2 separate regions of the Homo sapiens genome follow, and region 1 is linked to region 2. Evidence: promoter capture Hi-C in 16 types of primary human blood cells and fetal thymus (Javierre and others, 2016). All regions are on one chromosome and are shown on one strand. Each heading gives the region's core, a stretch centred on a gene start or on the middle of the fragment in contact. The rest is flanking DNA. Distances are from core to core; before and after follow the strand shown. Region 1 holds the start of NAA20 (N-alpha-acetyltransferase 20, NatB catalytic subunit). Region 2 overlaps SNX5 (sorting nexin 5).

Region 1 (3,215 bases), core at 591-3,090, 2.1 Mb after region 2:
AGCATCCAGTTTCTGCAGGGTTCCAATGCTACCTTTGTGTTAAACCCACAGTGTTTTTTTCTAAAAATCAAAATCATGTTTATTCCACCATTACCTAGATACAAACATAAAGTAGCTATAAACTTCTAATGTTTATAATACCAATGAATCAGAGCCAAAAATATTATAAAAACCTTCACTACTTCATAAGGAACAAAATTCAAATCAACATTAGTTCATGTCACACACAAAAAATTATGAAACACTTTGAAATGGCCAGAAAAAGATTACTGTTTAGTACACGTTTCCAGGTTTTCTCTGCTTTTTATTGTCTTTGACAATACAAAATTTTACAAATTTGTAAGCTGAGGAAAATTGATAGTAATGAAAATTTTTCTTGTCCATAAAATACAAATGCATAGTGTTATACAGTGCCCAGGAGAGACAGTGATTACAGCTCTGTGGATATTGACCAGTTTAACACTCATGTGTAAATACATTTCAGCATTCCTGCTTGCTTTATGTATTTTATCTCTCTTTATCTTATCTTTTTGAGACAGGGTCTTGGTGTGTCACCCAGGCTGGAGTGCAGTGGTGCAATCATGTCTCAGAGCAACCTCTACCTCCCGGGCTCAAATGATCCTCCCACCTCAGCCTCCCAAGTAGCTGGGATTACAGGTGTGAGCCACTGTGTCTGGTCTGAATAAAGGAATTTTTAACTTTTAATTTTAACTACTTTAAATTTAAAAACTGATGTTTGGTTCAGCGATTTGAAAACAGTATATTTGGAACCGCTTGGATATGAGAATCTGCTTTTTAACCATACATTGATGAAATCTAAATAGAGAACAAGCATTTCCGATGACAGCTGCTCTCTCAGATTGAAATGCACTGCAAATGTAAAATACACACCGGATTTCAAAGTCTTTGCAAAAAAGAATGTAACATATCACATTCCTTTTTTTATTGATTGATTACATGTTGAGTATTGATTGGTTACATGTTGAAATGATATTTCGGGTATAATAAAGTGGGGTCAGGGAAAAATATTTTTCCCAAATAGGAAAAATAAATGGGTAAAATAAAGCGTACTATCAAAATCAATTTTACATTTCGTTTTGCTTTTATTTATTTATTATTTATTTTTGAGACCAAGTCTAGCTCTGTCGCCCAGGCTGGAGTGCAGTGGCGAGATCTCGGCTCACTGCAACCTCCGCCTCCTGGGTTCAAGCGATTCTCCTGCCTCAGCCTCCAAGTAGCTGGGATTAGAGGCGCGTGCCACCACGCCCAGCTAATTTTTATTTCTTTCCTTTTTTTTTTTTTTTTAGTAGAGAGGGGGTTTCGCCATGTTGGCCAGGTTGGTCTCGAACTGCTGAACTCAAGTGATCTGCCCGCCTTGGCCTCCCAGTGTTGGGATTACAGGCGTGAGCCACCGCGCCCGGCCTTCTTTTTGTTTTTAAACGTGGTATTGACATTTTAAGATGACATCTGCAACTCGCAACACTGGGACAAGGGATTCTGGGTCATAAATTCTCCCATTCCTCATTTACTCTGCAGCACCGGGTGGCTGCGAACTCCGCTCTTCTGCTTGGGTTTCCGCATCACCAGCAGCTTCTTTCCTTCCCAGGTGTCGCCGCCTGCTTTCTGCAGCCGCTGCCTGGGAGGGGTTCCGAGGTTCTGGGCAGCCACAGCCCCGGAGGCCTTACAGGAGCGACCTGGCAATTCCCGCCGCCGGCCGCCAGAGGAAGCTGCTTTGCTGCTGTCGTTGCCCAGCAACTCGTAGCCCGGAAGCAGTACCCCGTCTCGCTCGGTTCCGCGGCGGCCACGCTCCGGGAGACTTCCGGCAGGGCGGGCGCGGGGTCTTGGCGAACGGTCTTCGGAAGCGGCGGCGGCGCGATGACCACGCTACGGGCCTTTACCTGCGACGACCTGTTCCGCTTCAACAACATGTGAGTGACACGCGCCTAGGGCCAGCCGCTCTTGGCCGGGCCTCGCTTCCCGGCCCCGCCAGCTCCGGCCCCAGCCGCGCCTTCCCGGCCGGACCCCAAGCCCGGACGGGGACCCGCGAGAACCACCCCCCGCCGGCCAACGTGGGCGCCTCCCTGGGGCCACAGGGTCCAGGGAGAGGTGGGCCTGGAGTCGACGCACGCCGGCCTTGGCGACCTTGGCCGAGGTGCTCAAACTTTGTCTCTGGACCCTGCGAGCTGGCAGGTTCTGGGGCAGCGCTCGGGCCTCCGCTCGTGGTCGCTGTCAGGAGGCGCTGGGGTGATGGGGCGAGCTGGAGACGCGGCCTGGAGCCCACGACCTGGGCTTCTCGCCCTGCCCTACTGCTTGCTGGTTCGTGGCCGGGCCGCGCCTCTTCTGGGCAGAGGGCACCGCCGACGGCCAGGCCGCAGAGGGGGCTTGCGAGGATCGGAAGCTGGTCAGCAGCTGTTGGGATGTGTACATCGTGAAGCCCACCTGGTGGCCGTGGTTAAATTGTATCCAAATGAAATGACACTGATCACTGCGTCCCCTGCAGCAGATGCTGTCTCAGTCATGGTTAGTGTTTGCAAGTTTAGTTACTGTAGCTGCGCACCCCGGTGTACACACCTTTCCTCTGTGAGGAGTCACGGCAGATCTTAGGGGAGGCTCGCTGTGCCCAGAGCCCTGGATGCAGTTTCTTTGGATTCGAGTTAAGGCCAGACCTCTGATTTGCAGGTACCAATTTTTTTTTTTTAAGAAAACATTTTATTATGAAGATTCCCACACATTTAGAAAAGTTGGAGGAATTTCACCATGTGCTTTTATAGACACTTTTCCTGGATTCTGCAGTTAACATTTTGCTACGCTGGTATCTCTCCTTCCTTCCCATCTATCAGTCCTGGATCCACTTTAAAAAAACAACAGGGCGGTATGTGAAAACTAAGGACAAAGTGGTTCCGATTCAAGTGTCAGGAAGATGGAAAGAACTATGGGATAAGATGGCTGGGAACATTTCAAAGAGGGGGTGAGCCTTGAAGATGGATAACACATTGGTAAGTGAGGAAGACGGAAGTTCCGGAGAAGGAGCGGGGCATGAAAATGGGGAAACTTGAAGTGCGGTCAGACAACTGGGATCAGTGCGAATCTAGTGGCTGGTTTCTGCCACTGAGCAGTCAGGAAGAAATGGGTGAAACAGGAGGGGTTTAGACTTGATCCTGTGGAAAGAATTTTCTGTTGGGCCAGTCTGGTAGCTACGGTGACTTGTGTTGAAC
Region 2 (3,223 bases), core at 410-2,909:
GATGCACAGGAAATAGGTTTGACAATTTACCTTTACCAAGAAAGACGATTCAGCAACAGTGGTAGAGCTGCCTGTTTGAACTTAACCTTGGTCATCTCAGTTTGAAATACAAATGGCAGCATGGAGAGCAGGCTGCCCGCTTTTTGGTTGGACATTTCTTTCACTCTTGAGTTTGAGGTACAGCAAATTTCCCAAATCATTCAGATGTAAATATTCCAATACTCAGACCAGGGGCCCATTCAGGAGGCTGAGTGCAGGAAGATGGCCTGAGCTCAGGAGTTCGATACCAGCTTGGGCAACACAGCAAGACTGTCTTGAGAAAAAGAATTCTAAACAAAATAAATACAAGAATTCAAAACAAAATTCATGAAAGATATAGGAAGGGTGAGGGAAGAAGTCCAACATTTTATCACCCACCAGCTACCAAGTATCTAACAGCACAATGTCCTAGCTCTGCGGTGCTCTTGAAAGAAAAAGTGAAAACCCTGACAAGGGAGCCATCTGGATTTGTATTCCTCACCATTTACCATGACTAGAATGCTTAGGAGTGTGCCCTTCAGAAACTGAGCTTTTCAGGCAGAAAATTAGTTTTCTCTCCAGACCATATAGGAATGCCTAAAAAAGTTATGCCAAAATGTAAAAAGAAGAGTCAAGCCAAGGACCCCCATTTTTAAACTTAAGTGTTGGCTGCCCCTCAAACTGCAACTTACTCCTCCTGGGGTACTATGGTTTGCCTTTAGGCAGCATGTGAAGGTGTGAAGATCTCTTTTAGGAGATCTTGTCAGAGTACCTCAATGGCCAATCAGAAAACAGGTATTAAGGGTGAAGAAGCCACTTTTTGGAAAGTTAGATCATGCAGAGAAACTTAATTTACACTTTAATAGCCGTTTCTCACTATTGGGATCATTAAAAGTTAGACTGTTTCCTTAAATACTATTTAACTTCACTACACACTGTTGTGACCACGGGCTATTTAAGACATTCAGGGTACTAACCTATAGATCTGTTCTCACCTAATTTGCTCGAGCATCAAGACCCTGATAATAAAGACAGAAAAATGCTGAAACAGCAGAATTTTAAACCAAGTTCCCCTCTGCAGCACAAGAAACTCAGGTAAGTTTCCAGTGTCCAAAGCCTACACTCACAAACACAAACACGAAGCCCTCCCTTTGCAACCCTCAAGTACCCAGAACCTGCTGAAGAAAACCATCTTTCACCACCTTTTGTTAAGGTTCCTCAGTATTAGTGGAAAAGCTTTATTCTCACAAAGATATCCAACAATGCTAATTTTTACATGGCATGTTATTTCCTTAGGCAAGATTAATAGAAAACCTGAAAAATTCGCAACAAGCACACAAAGACTAGCTTCTGTAACACAACCTGACCCCACCCATATCACACCATTTTAGAAGGAAGTCCGTTTAAACCAGTGATTCTCAAACAGGCAATTTTGACTTCTTATCACCATGGGAGGGGAGGAGGCCGCGTCCTAGCAGAGGCCAAAAACAGTTGCTTCACATCCTACAACCCAGAGGGCACTCCTCAACAAAAGTGATCAGGCTAAAATGTCAACAGTGCTCCCCAGGTTGAGAAACTGAATTTTAAACTCAACCTCTAGTTTAGATGACCACTAGGTCTCACCGAATGAGGAGTTTACAGCTCAGAAACAAATCTAGAAAACTTAACAGCCTTGGCCAAGCACAATGGCTCATGCCTGTAATCCCGGCATGTTGAACTGGATGGTGAAACCCCATCTCTACCAAAAAATACAAAAATTAGGTGGGCATGCTGGTGTGTGCCTGTAGCCCCAGCTACTCAGGAGGCTGAGGTGGGGGTGATCACCTGAGCTCCCCAGGTCGAGGCTGCAGTGAGTTGTGATCGTGACACTGCACTCCCGCCTGGGTGACAGAGCCAGACCCTGTCTCAAAAAAAAAAAAAAAAAAGCCTCTTGGCCATTTCTACCTATGGCCAAAATAATGTGAACAGATAATGACCTTTTAGAGTATTCACAAATGGGGATCTTAAGACACCGAGTACAAGTTACTGAACTAGAACTAAGGCGTGGGAAGCTTGATACGTCATACTTCCTCAACTTAGAAAATAGTTGCAAGGGTAGCATAAAGCTTCAGTCCACAAAGTTTGTAAGTTTGGACTTGCTATGGTATTGGTCAAAGTTCAGGATTGTTCCTATACTAACCAACTGCACTCCATTCTAGCTAATGGAGAACAAAAATACCCCTAGAGGCAGCTTCCACACCAGTTAAACACGAAACCAGAGCAGCAGTACTTAGTCTACAAACACTCCTGAGTAGGTAAGAGGACAGATATCATTCACCAAAGTCCCTGTAACCAAGCAGTAAGTTAAGGCCAAGTTGTTACTGTCAAGGAAGGAGAACCCCCTAGTTAAAAATAGCACTAGGCTGCGAAGGTCGAGTTCAAATACCAGCCTGGCCAACATGGTGAAACCCGGTCTCCACAAAAATACAAAAATTAGCCGGGCATGGCGGTGAGCGACTGTAATCCCAGCTACTTGAGAGGCTGAGGCAGGAGAATCGCTTGAACCCAGAAAGCGGAAGTTGCAGTGAGCTGAGATCGAGCCATTGCGCTCCAGCCTGGACGACAGAGCGAGACTCCGTCTCAAAAAAAAAAAAAAAATCAAAAACCAGTAAATAGAGGACCAGTTAGGAACCAAATTAACCATGCATCTCTTCCCCTGAACTATTTTCTGAGGAAGAAGGCAAACCCCAACACCCTCGGCTAAAGAATGTAACAAAATGCCAGTGTCTGGCTACCAGACACGACTGACACAGTATTCCCTTTCAGTTTTGCTGAATTGGCCAAAATGAGTATTGGGCTAGAATTCAAAATCCTGAAGAATCAAGTATGTCCCCCTACCTTAGTGAGTCTTAATTAACTCCATCCTTAGGGAGAATTCCAAACCAAAGTAAATTATCAGGAGGGCATTTAAACAATTTAAGTAACACACATTTCAGGTAACACACAAAACATTTCAGTTGACTACCGAAATTGTATTATGGCAAAAAGTTGCCCAAGACTTAGTTTCCCATTATTTCATACTTGCCCCAAACTCCCTTTCAGTTAACCATAACACCATCTAGGCCAGACCACAGCAGGTTATCAGCATCAGCAGAGATCAGAAAACAAAAATAAAGCCACGCGTCAGGGTAATTATTTATTTTTATTGTCTCTTTATTCCTGTAAT

Evidence for each region. The method cuts DNA at HindIII sites, captures the fragments that hold promoters and counts their contacts. A CHiCAGO score of 5 or more calls a contact.
Region 1: a contact is called between the fragment with the promoter of NAA20 here and a fragment that was not itself captured in region 2, in 1 of 17 cell types (non-activated CD4 T cells). The highest score is 5.4, in non-activated CD4 T cells.

The regions. Positions count from the first base shown.
Region 1 is chr20:20,015,522-20,018,736 of GRCh38, forward strand. NAA20 (N-alpha-acetyltransferase 20, NatB catalytic subunit) reads left to right here and starts at 1,841. Exons shown (of 6, transcript NM_016100.5): 1 at 1,841-1,928. The coding sequence starts at 1,876. RefSeq lists enhancers at 1,348-1,527, 2,142-2,642, 3,104-3,215 and silencers at 1,848-1,917, 1,968-2,087. The HindIII fragment of the contact is 8,583 bases long and covers 1-3,215 here.
Region 2 is chr20:17,963,746-17,966,968 of GRCh38, forward strand. All of the region lies in intron 1 of SNX5 (sorting nexin 5), which reads right to left. Among named protein-coding and RNA genes, the nearest start is that of SNORD17, 2.4 kb to the left of the region's middle. RefSeq lists an enhancer at 2,465-2,544. The HindIII fragment of the contact is 815 bases long and covers 1,253-2,067 here.